2 separate regions of the Homo sapiens genome follow, and region 2 is linked to region 1. Evidence: promoter capture Hi-C in 16 types of primary human blood cells and fetal thymus (Javierre and others, 2016). All regions are on one chromosome and are shown on one strand. Each heading gives the region's core, a stretch centred on a gene start or on the middle of the fragment in contact. The rest is flanking DNA. Distances are from core to core; before and after follow the strand shown.

Region 1 (5,846 bases), core at 1,509-4,008:
TAAGTGCAGTTAATATCAATAATCGCAGGAGCACTGCCTCAAGCTGTGTTTTAGAGGGAAGGGGCTAAATGGTTGGGTGTAGGGGAGGCCTGGGGAGAGCGGGCAGGAGGCCAGCCACGGACAGGCCTGAGACAGGATCAGACAGCCAGTGTGCCAGGGAGCTGAAGAGGACTCTGTGGACTCAAGAAGGGCCCTAAAAGAGGAGTGGTGAGGTGTTCAGGAGGGCAAGAGGCAGAGGAGCTCCTCAAAGCCTGGGAGGAGGATAGGGGAATTGACTCTGATGTCAATAGGGACCTTGAGCCTATGAGAGGCAAAAATGAAGATGGTGAAGAAGGATGAAGGGCTTCCCTGTGGTAATCAACAGGGCCCTGGCACAAACACTTCTGACAACACGCTTCTGTGTGACAATGATGAATGTCTGTAGACTTTAGAAAGGGTTGAGAATTTTTGGGGTCCAGCAGAGAAGATATTATGAGGAAAGAAGAGCCATCTGCCTCCCCATCATGTTACCAAGGCTGTTCACTTTCCAATAGCAGATGTCTGACAAAGGCAAGTTGTTTCTGTCTTCTTAGCTCACAGTCTCTGCCTCCTCAGCCCTGCAGCGTTAACAAGCAAAACTGTGCTTAGCAGAGCTTTGTAATTATGGCCTTCATGTACATAAGCCTGACTCTGTAGACCACAACAGCAGAAAAATCCAAAGCCTGGTGACGTCATGTGCTACCTGGCCCCACCTCAACCTGGGCTGTTCCTTGGAGGTGCACTCAGGAGGGAGCCACCCGCCCTGCTGGGCTCCGAGGTGACCAGGCTGTCTGCTGCTGCTGGCTGGGGCCCATCCTCCTCTGCTCTGACAGCCCAGACGCCTTCACTGAGCACCTCCTGGCTACTGACGTTGCTTTAGGAGCTTGAGTCTGAGAAGCCATGGAGATCAACAGAGCCTAGGCTGCTGGAGCTTACAGCCCTGGGGGTAGGGGAAGAGGGCACGACAGACACAAAAGGAGCCAATAAACCCACAAATAATTCCAAACTGTGATGGAGGATGTGGAAGAGAGTGGCAGAAGAGATGGATGCAGGGCGATCTTCCAGAAGCCACCAGTAAGAAGGAACCAGGTGCACTGGTTGGAGGAGTCCCAGGCAGGAAGGAGCTTGGCTCTGGCACTGAGAGAAAGGAGCCGTGATTGGAGCCCAGCGGGCAGGGGTGAGAGGCTCAGAGCAGCCAGGGAAGTCAGGCAGAGCCTCGTGGGAGTTTGGGTTTTAATATTCCTGGAGGCTTTTAAGCAGGGGGCTAGCAGGACCCGGTTTACACTTTGTGAGGTGCCTGGGACCAAGTGTGAAGAATGGATCATCTGGGAGAGTGGGTCAGAAGCTGGGGAGCCACTGCAGGTTTTGGAGGGGCGCAGGCAGTGAGATGAAAGGGCAAGATGCATGGAGAAGCCAGTGGGAAGTGGACTTGGGCCCTCTGGGAGGTGGACTTGAGGTGGGACACGGAGGCAGGGACAGGGACGACTGCAGAGAAACTAAGTAAGAGCAAGAGGCAGGTCTGAGACAGCAGGAGACAGCCAGGAGGAGCTGAGCTTGGAGGAGAGGGCCCCAGAGTGGTGCTGCTTAGAGTCATTCCCATACGGATGGTGTTTAAAGCTTTGGGGCTAGACAAGGCCCCCAGGGACAGAAATGGGCAGGGCAGGGCAGGGAGGTGGAGCTCAAGTTCTCCACTGGTTTCGCAGCTCTCCGGCCCCTGTGGAGGGGAAGTCCCACTCTGGGCAAATCACGTGGGGGTGGCCTCTGCCAGGAGGCACCCATTGCTCTGCAGCCTTTGGGGTCCGTAGCTCTGTCTAAACAGGCCTTAAGTATGCTAAGAGTCGTCGGCTGGCAATCGGTGCAACGTGGGGTAACACACCGTAAGTGCCACTTTCTCCCCATCCATTCATTCATTCATAAGCCTAATGAGCTGGGTCCCTACCACAGAATGCAGCTTCCCTCATGAGGGCTGGGCCGTGGCCCCATCCAGAGGGCACGGCACAAAGGTTCAGAACCAACATGCCACCAGTGTCTTTTCTGCTCCTTCCAGGGAACTGCCTTTTCTCTGAAAGCTCCCTAAATAGCTTGAGTGAAATTCCCTGGAAGAAGTCGGCTAGACAGCAGGCCCAGTGCCTGGCTCTGTCGCTCTTCTTTCTCTTTGTGCGTTTTTAACTTTGACAGATACTGCCTTCGGGACAAGCGAGCCCTCTTCTACATCCCCCAGACAGGCGCCTTATCCCCTCCTCTTTCCAGAGGAGGCCACCAGGCCCAGCGACCTCACAGCTCTCCCAGCTTCCTCGCACCAGAAGCGCACGGGGTGCCCTGCGTGTCCCACACCTGCTGCAAGACCAGGGCGAGTCCCTAGTCAGGCCACTTCCTGGTGCACAGGGATAGGGCAGGGAGAGGCAGGGCCTTGCCTTTGCTCTCCACCAGGTGTGAGTGCCTGCCATACCCTGACCCTCTGTCTACGCACCTGGGTCCCGGCGGAGTGGCTGGACCAGGCCTCCCCGGAAGGGGCACCAGCCTTGAGTAAACGGATGCCCACAGTGTCTGGGTGCTCCCAGGGCAGGGCCGCAGGGCCTCAGGGCCATACCCGCCTCGCAGGTGGGGCGGGCGCCCTGGATGCGCTCCCCGCGCCGGGCACCAGGCGTCGCCCCCGCTCCTCGCAGCGCCCAGGCCCCCGCCCCCGCCGCGGAGCCACAGCCGGAGCTGGAGCCGAGGCGGCGGCGGGACGCGGCCGGCCGGACAAATTTCCTGCTAGGCTGCGGACAGCGGGCGGCAGGAGCCGGCGCGAGCGGCTTCAGGAACCCACGGCCTCTGCGCGTCCCCGCGACCCTTCTTCGCGCCCGGCGAAGACAGCCGGGCGCCCCGGAGGGCGGCGGGCAGGCGCCCGGGAGATGCGGAGCCTCCGCTGCAGCGCGATCTGCGCGACCAGACCGGCCCCCCCGAGGTGAGCGCGCGTGCGGACAGGGACCCTGCGCCCCTGTGGGGAACTGTGCACCCCGGGAGGCCCAAGCAGGCCGGGGCGCTGCCTCGGCCGCTGCCGCGGGAGGGAGGGGCCGCTCCGGGGCTCAGAGTCCGGACCCCGGCCCCGCCGCCCCCGCGGCGCGCCCAGTACCAGCGGCTGGGGCCCGTACGACCCCCGACCCCGGCCTGTGGCGCGTCCCCTCACCCGGAGTCCCCAGCCCAACTTGGCGACCACAGTGGCAGTGCTCACGCTCCCTCTCGGTAAACAGGAGGAGGGCGCGCGTGTCTGCGGGTGGCTACAGTGCGCGGGGGCCGGCGGCAGGGCGGCGTACGTGAAAGCGGGCGACACAGAGAGGGGGTGCAGGCCGCGCGTGGGGGGCTGCGCCCACTCGAGGCTGGAGGCTGGAGCCTTTGAAGAAAGTGGCTCGAGTTGTGCCAACTCTGGGAGGGGCCGGCGCTCTGCCAGGATGCTGCCCCGCAGCCGGGCGGGCGCCCGCGCCTTCCCAGGGAGGCAGGTGGAGCGGGATGCAGCAGCCGCCGGGGGTCGGAGATGCGGCAGGGAGACCCTGGCAGGTGGTCCAGGCTGGACTGCCGCGATTTGCAGGGTCGACGACCTCACAGGGCTCCTGAGCACAGATGCGAGCGCGGTGCCAATTCTGAGAGCTCCCGGGACCATCTGGGGAAGGCCGGGCAACCCACAGGATGGGGAGGCAGAGCCAAGCCGGATGGAGACCGCGCTGGACCTGACCTAAATTCCTTCCAGGCATGCAAACCTTTCCAGAAAGATTAGGCAATTATACTTGCAGAATTATGATATTGGTTTGTCTTGAGTCGTGACCATTCCATCAGAGTTTCAATCCAGGAAACTCAAAGAAAGAATACAGCTCTCTGCTTGTATTTTAGAGTGAATGAGCGTATAGGTGAGTTGAATGAACACCAGCAAAGAGTGATCACGTGATACAGAAATTACTGTGTCCATGTCCAGTCAGCTCTGCATTTGGCCCCAGGTACCCCTTGACCCAGGGCGTCTGGAGGTCTTTGTGTCCCAAAGATGGATGAAGTTCTGCCTCTGCACACTAACGACTCTTGTCCATTTAAACTGTGTGTATGTGGGTGGGGAGGGGGGGTGTGGAGGGTCGTTTCCAAAACTGGGATAATGGCCAGAGGAGGGCATGAAATGGTGGGGGCCAGTGGCTGGGGCAAGCGTCTGACCACCACGGTCACTCAGCCAGCATGGTATGGGCAGAGCTCTGTGGTGTGAACAGGGTTAGGGTCTGTACTTTCCAAGCACAGGCTCTTGGCATTTGGGGAGCAAAAGGTCAGAGGCGAGGTGGAGCAGGCCCAAGAGGTGGGGGCTGCGCTGTCAGTGAGAGAGGCCTGACGTACCACCCAGCCCTTCCCAGACAAGGCTCTGCCCCTGAATCTGACCTTGGGGGCCAAGATTTTTGTTCATTGATGTTGGTGATGCCTGTGAGTCACCACCGCCCCCTCCCTGCCCCAACAGACCGTTCCCATGTGGACAAGAGCTAGGAGCTAGATTTGTCTCTGTAAAAGGTCAGGTCACTGGATGTGTCCAGATGGCTTGGGACTTAGTCACACACTCCCTCATCAGTTCCAGTCAAACCAGTTGAGGGAAGTCGATGAGGGTGTTATTGTCTTTACGTGTGATGCTTCTTGGAGGCCCTGTGTGGACACAAAGTGAGGACAATGCGGAAAGTCACACAGAGGCCACCTCTCATTTCTGTGGGGGACAGCTGGCAGAGAGAGATGCGCTCCCTGTGTCAGCACCGCCACCTCCACGGAAGCCTGGAGGAGGTCCTGAAGCACTGTGCCCTGATGGGAGCCCCCTCTTCTCCAGGGATGCGTGTGTGCAAACCATTGCCCCTGAGAGTAGATGCGGCTGTGTGTGTACATCCTTGCCCCTGAGAAGAGAGGTGGCTGTGTGTGCAAATCTTGCCCCCAAACCCCAAGAGAAGATGCATTCACAGTGGGGGTGATGGTAGATGCATCAGTTTCAACTGGTGAAAGTATGCTTCTCCCAGCTGTGCCTCAGTGGGTCCACTGTGCTCCATCTGCACCACCATTAGCCTAGTCTAAGGTGCACCGCTGATCAATATTCCCTCCCTGAAGGCCAGAGGTGTGTTTCTAGGCCCGGCCACTCCTCTGTAGTTCTCCTCCGCAGCTGCCCACTTGACATTTCTCCCTGGGATATCAAATGCCCCTTGACTCAATGCGTCAAAATCAAACTTGTGATCTCCCCTCCCCTTCCAGTACTTTCCCAGTGTTGTCTTTATCCATCCAATTCCACCAGCCTCCATGTTGCTTCTGAAATGTATGCCAGACTATAGTTTCTGTGAAGAGAGGGCAATACTGTATCTCCAGTGCCCAGCCATGTGCCTACCAGTGGAGCCTTGAGGACTACTGTCCATGGATAAACAACTTGGAAGTGAGACCTTCCCGAAGCGCATGTGCTGATGGAGCAAGTGTGTGTCTGTTGCGTGGATGTTGTATGGTTGATAGGCAGCCACACATTTTTGCCGATGTGGATGGGCATGGTCCATCCAGGGCTCATGTGGCCAGCCCTTCTGGAGATGCTGGACTCACCTGCTAAAATGACTGCTGGCTTGGACCAGAGACACCCCAAGTGACCTCCCAGGGAGGCAGGCTTGGGAGCAGGGAGGGAACAGGATCGAAGCTGCCCCGTATTCCCTTGCTAGACAAGTCTTTTTCATTTATAACATTTGAGTCACCCTCACAGAAGTTCTGTTGCCAAAGCAGGAATGAATGTATCCATTAGGGTAAAGACTGGCCTTCTTAATATTTGAATATCACTTGGGAAGAAAACTACAGTTCTAAGAACATCT
Region 2 (5,510 bases), core at 2,116-4,615, 40 kb before region 1:
CTAGCCTTTAAGCAGCCCTCCTGCTCTTGTTGTGCCCTGACTTGCCCAGACATGTCTGAACATGCCTTGTGCTGCAGCAGAGGGACCACTCCTGCCCCCTCCCTGCCTTACGAATCACATGTTTACCCTGTTTGGAAAAGTTTAAGTCTTAGCCAACTGGGGTCAGCTTAGATTGTGTGATCCAACTCCAGCCAATGGGGACCAGACACAGAACCAGGAACTAACCGCATTAGGGATAAAAACCCCTTCCCTCCTTTGTTTGGTGTGCTCTTGCAGTGGCCAGAATTGTGAGCGGCATACTTCTGCAGAAGTAAATTTGCCTTCTTGAGAAATCCTTTGTTTGAGTGCTCATTTTCCTTGTGACTCCGAGCTCTTGTTTCTAACAGTTTCCTTGGTGTCTTCTTTCTGTTCAAGTTCCTTATGCTCTCCTTAGGTGAAAAGAGCCTTAACCCCCAAAATGCAGAAAACTTCCGGGACCATCTTGGAAGACACCACTTGACACTAGAAATTGTGGTGAATTAACAAGGGGGAGGCCATGCTGTATGGATCACAGTTTCAGCCAACATTTGCCCCAAAATTAGTGATTTCAATGGTCTCATTTTATCCTGGTGATAACCTCTATGGTAAGAGGTGGTTTGTGTTATTGTTCTTGTAACCAAGTACCCCCATTTTTTCTAAGAGATAGTTTAATTATTCTTTCCTCTTTCTTTTTCTCTTTTCTCCTTTTCCACACTTCCTACTTCCTACTTAGCCCTTTAGAAATGCATATATAGCCTTTTTTACCTCCTTTTATTAGACACTCCCTACAGGGCAAGTTCATCTAACTATGTGCTTGGGAGCTTCAGAAGGGAACTCACCCACCAAGAAGTTGCCTCAAGAGATAACAGTAGATTTACAACTCAAAGTATGCATGCCCACGAAGACACCAGCCATCACTAGCTTGACTGCATCTACCAAGCTAACACATGGGCCCCAAAACTGCTCACTTCCCCCACTCCTGCCTCCTTGGACTCCCCGATAGCCCGCCTACCACATGCCGTTCATGTTAGGCCTCCCTTACAAGTGTTCACTTTCTTCTCCAAAAGCTAAATGGTACCCTTAGGCAGGAAGCTTATACTTATTCCCTTAAGCCAGCTTTAGAGTGAAAAAGCTACTTTCTTTATACCAGACCTCACTCTTGTTAACTGGATTCTACAAGTGATGAGCAACTGGACCAGCATTTTAGTCACATGCTCTCAGTTTTGCAGTTGAAATCAAACCCCCAGCAAGCTTTGCAATTCCAAGTTTACCCCTTTCCTATGATTCTGGCTAATGCTCTAAAACCTCCAGACCTTATGAAAAGTGAATTAATTTTCCCCATTTTCTGTTCTCTTCCTTTTTAAAAAGGAAAACGTTGAATATTGTTGCTAAATATAAAAGTAATGCATGCTAATTATGACATCATAAGAAATGCATAGTTGGTCTCTGTCCCTGGTTCCTGACACAAGCTCCTGAACTGCAAGAAATAAATTTCTGTTGGTTATTTATACTTTCCTGTGTGATAGGGGTGATAGGTGCATCTTTTGTTATAATATTTGGTCTCCGTCCTTCATTCCTAACACAAGAACTTCTAAGACCCTTGGAATCTCCAGAGTGATAAGTGTCTTTTCTCTACTAATGAGATGACTGCTGGCTGGGAGCCCATAGGGTCGCTTCGGGATAGGGGTGGGTCACCAGAAAGACCAAGGCCTGATGAGTGAATTAGGACTTTCAACCTCACCCCCAGCCTCCAGAGAGGGGAAAAGGGCTGGAGATTGACTTAATCATCAATGGCCAACGATTTAGTGATCATGCCTTCATCAATGAGGCCCCCAGAAAACCATCACATGATGGAGTTCAAAAAGCTTTCAGGTTGGTGAGCTCACCGAGGAGCTGGGAGGGTGCTGTGCCTGGAGACAGCATGGAAGCTTCTCTTTACCCTACCCCCTAGTACCTTGTCCTATGTGTCTCTGCCATTTGTTCCTAAGTTGTATCTTGGTAATAAACTGGTAATAGGGAGTAATGTGTTTCCCTTAATCTGTGAGTCATTACAGCAAATTATCAAACTAGAGGGGGGGAATGGGGGAACCTCTGATTTGCAGCCAAGATGGAGAGAAGTGTGGGTAACCTGGGGACCCACTACTTGTGATTGGTGTCTGAAGTGGGGCAGTCTTGGGAGGGTAAGCTCTTTAATTTGGGGAGTCTGCCCAGACTCCAGGTAGATAGTGTCAGAAGTGGATTAAATTGTAGGACACCCAGCTGGTGTCCCCACAGAATTGGGGAATTTGGTGTCGATAACTACACATTTGGTATTAGAAGCATTGTGTGAATATGGAGGACTTTTGTTTTAACAGGACAGTGTTAGGAAAAATTAAACCCAGTACGCCTCACCACCCAGAGGCACCTGTGTTAACAATCTCACTCCTGCCTTTTTCATACATCATATTGTACATATCATCTCCTCAAGCGTGATTTTCAGTTGCTTCGTCACATCCCATGCATGGATGTAACCACGTTCTCCACATCTCCAACTTCCATAACTGTCATTCTCCATAGAAACAGAGTAAAACATGGAAATTAGTTTCAAAGGCTTTATTAATATATAGATTCTTAGTTGCAAAATGGAGACCATCTTGGGATCTTAACCTTCCTTTGATAATATTGTTCCAATTGAGTTCTATGTTACAGCATAACAAAAACTAATTTAGAAACCTAACTGCAGGTTAGAAACAGTTCCTACTTACTATAGAAGACTGTTTACCTATTTCAATCATGTGACCATTCTCAAAACAGGTTTAGGAATTGCCTCAGAAGCCCAAGGTAGCAGCCTGAATGGAAGAAAACCTTCTTGCAGGTAGATTTATTTAGCCTTTGGAATCAGCCGATTCAGAACCAAGACTGTGACTGAGTTGTGGAATGTTACTTGGGGACAAGGCTCTCAAGGAAGGGGGCTGTTTTCCTGTGTGGCCTGGAAACTGGTTCAAACAGCAGTTCTCAAAGAGAATTCCCCAGGACAGGGGCCAGAATATCCTCCGCCTCCCACTTCCAGGACAATCGCCTAGTCGTCCTTCAAGCCTCAGTAAAAGGATCTCTTCCTCTAGGACGACTTTACTACTGACTCATCCAGATAATTCCTCCCTCCACTGGGCGCTTGTGGTACACTGTCCTTATTCCGCTACTGTCTTCATGTATTTCCACATTTCCAGCAGTCAGCATAGCAGCTCACCCAAGAAGGATGCCCATGCATTGTTGAAAGAAGGGATGGGGCCAGGAAGCTCAGCTAGGTGCTGTTACGTTCACGTAAAACTAGAATCAGCAAATTAGAAGTGGGTCATGGCCTTCTACAAATGAGTGTCTAAACAGCAGAGAAGCAAACTGAAAGAAAAAACAAGCAGCAAGAAAAGAGAGCATTTATCTAGAAAGGAAAAATCCAGAAACTAAACAAATACAGAGATCTGAGACCATTGTGTGTAGAGTCCAATAGTCCAATGGGCACACTAGTCATCTGGAAGCCACTGTCCTGGCAGAGGGTAGACCTGAGTGTTGCTGGTGACAAAGATAAATGGTCACCTTGGATCAAGATGAAGATGCAATTTAAACACAACCTAGTTTTTTTTTAAGTCTTCTGTAGTTTGAGGAGTCAATACAATTATTCCTCCCTCTTTCCTAGCCTGTTCTCCAGCATTTAAAGATAGAAACAAAGAAAATTATGGAATACATCAGTCTAAAACTAAACCTACAGGCAGGAGCCAGATCCTTTGGAGAGCATGCAACAAGCAGATTTCCTTCAAGATAAAATGAAGTATTTCATGCTACAGGGTTTTTGGGTGGCCCTCCCACTGGGAGCTTCTGCTACAACAGAACCTGGCTTGTGCATTTAAAACCTAAAAGCAGGAGGATTTACATTTGCCACACAGCTTGCTTCCAACACTACTGAACACACTTCCAGATGATGCAGGGAAAGCTCTTGAAGATTTTAAAAAAAAAAACATGTGATTACAAACTATTGTATAACTTTGAATTTTTATAAAGACATAACGGAGCCCTCACAAAACGAAAAGTTTGCCAGGCATGGTGGCTCATGCCTGTAATCCCAGCACTTCGGGAGGCTAAGGAGGGCGATCACCTGAGGTCAGGAGTTCAAGACCAGCCTAGCCAACATGGAGAAACACCACCTCTACTAAAAAATACAAAAAAAACTTAGCCAGGCATGATGTTGTGCACCTGTAATCCCAGCCACTCAGGGGGCTGAGGCAGGAGAATCACTTGAACCCAGGAGGCAGAGATTGCAGTGAGCCAAAATCATGCCACTGCACTCCACCCTGGGCAACAGAGCGAGACTCCATCTCACACACACAAAAAAAAGACAAGAAAAATTAATTCCAATTCAAAGAAAGAGTCCAGGGCTGGGCATTGTGGCTTATGCCTGTAATCTTAGCACTTTGAAAGGGCAATGAAGAAGGATAACTTGAGGCCAGGAGGTTGAAGCTGCAGTGAGCCATGATTGCACCACTGCATTCCAGCCTGGGTGACAGAGTGAGACTCTGTTGAAAAGAAGAGTCCAGAACAGTTATGGCCAACAGATGTATATTCAGCAACCTCACTCACTCTAAGAAGTCCAGCTTCAGGGAGTATATTTACAGACCAGGTGGAGCAGGGCCTTGGACTGGTTAACACAGAGACTGGCTGTGCACAAAGGTCAATTGCTGATGGCAGAGTGAGTCTTCCAAAGATTAGATGCAAGCCATTTGGAAGTGTTGACACTATAAGCTTTAGTGTTGAGGACCCACGAGATGATGAGATTATTTTCTCTAAATCAGTGAATAACTATTCAAATGCTTTTTAATAGTGATACAAACTCCAAGTTAACAGGTTAATCTGAATTTTTTGCTGTTTTCCGTTGATCACCTTTTGAAGAAAGGACCTTTTCCCAAGTCTAAGAAGCTACCCACAGGAAAGTAAATAATCACTAAAGAAATAGAAGATTGTCTTCAAGATTCAGGACTTTTTGGATTCCTGAAAATTCTATATCAAAACCTAACTGATGGGAAGACCAAAACCAGGTGTGTGACATTTATTTAATAAACTAGATTTGTCTGATTTATTCCAGAATGGCAGAGTTTCGGTGGGAGGCATCTATAGCATCGGGTCTTAAAAAGTGGTCCCAGACTCCTGGAGGCTCCTGAGACTACACTGTGAGGTTTGCAAGATCAAAACTATTTTCATCACAATACTTAGATGTTATTTCCTTTTTTCTTTGGGGATACTTGAACAGATGGTGGAAAAGCAATGGTGGGTGAGATGGGTTGACCTTACCACAGTATCAAGGCATTGGCATCAAACTGCACAACTTGTCACTGGGGACATCACCACCCCATACTTGGAGGAGTGTGGATGATTTGTCTAGTGCTATCTGTGGAGTGTTGAAGTCCCCCACTATTATTATGTTACTGTCTATCTCTTTTCTTAGGTCTAATGGTAATATTTTTATG

Evidence for each region. The method cuts DNA at HindIII sites, captures the fragments that hold promoters and counts their contacts. A CHiCAGO score of 5 or more calls a contact.
Region 2: a fragment that was not itself captured here is called in contact with the fragment with the promoter of PTPRE in region 1 in 1 of 17 cell types (M2 macrophages); the score reaches 5.1 in M2 macrophages.

Annotation. Positions count from the first base shown.
Region 1 is chr10:127,904,345-127,910,190 of GRCh38, forward strand. PTPRE (protein tyrosine phosphatase receptor type E) reads left to right here and starts at 2,759. Exons shown (of 21, transcript NM_006504.6): 1 at 2,759-2,965. RefSeq lists a silencer at 2,603-2,722. The HindIII fragment of the contact is 4,276 bases long and covers 1,634-5,846 here.
Region 2 is chr10:127,863,318-127,868,827 of GRCh38, forward strand. It overlaps the pseudogene BUB1P1. Among named protein-coding and RNA genes, the nearest start is that of CLRN3, 27 kb to the right of the region's middle. RefSeq lists an enhancer at 1-416. The HindIII fragment of the contact is 2,842 bases long and covers 1,945-4,786 here.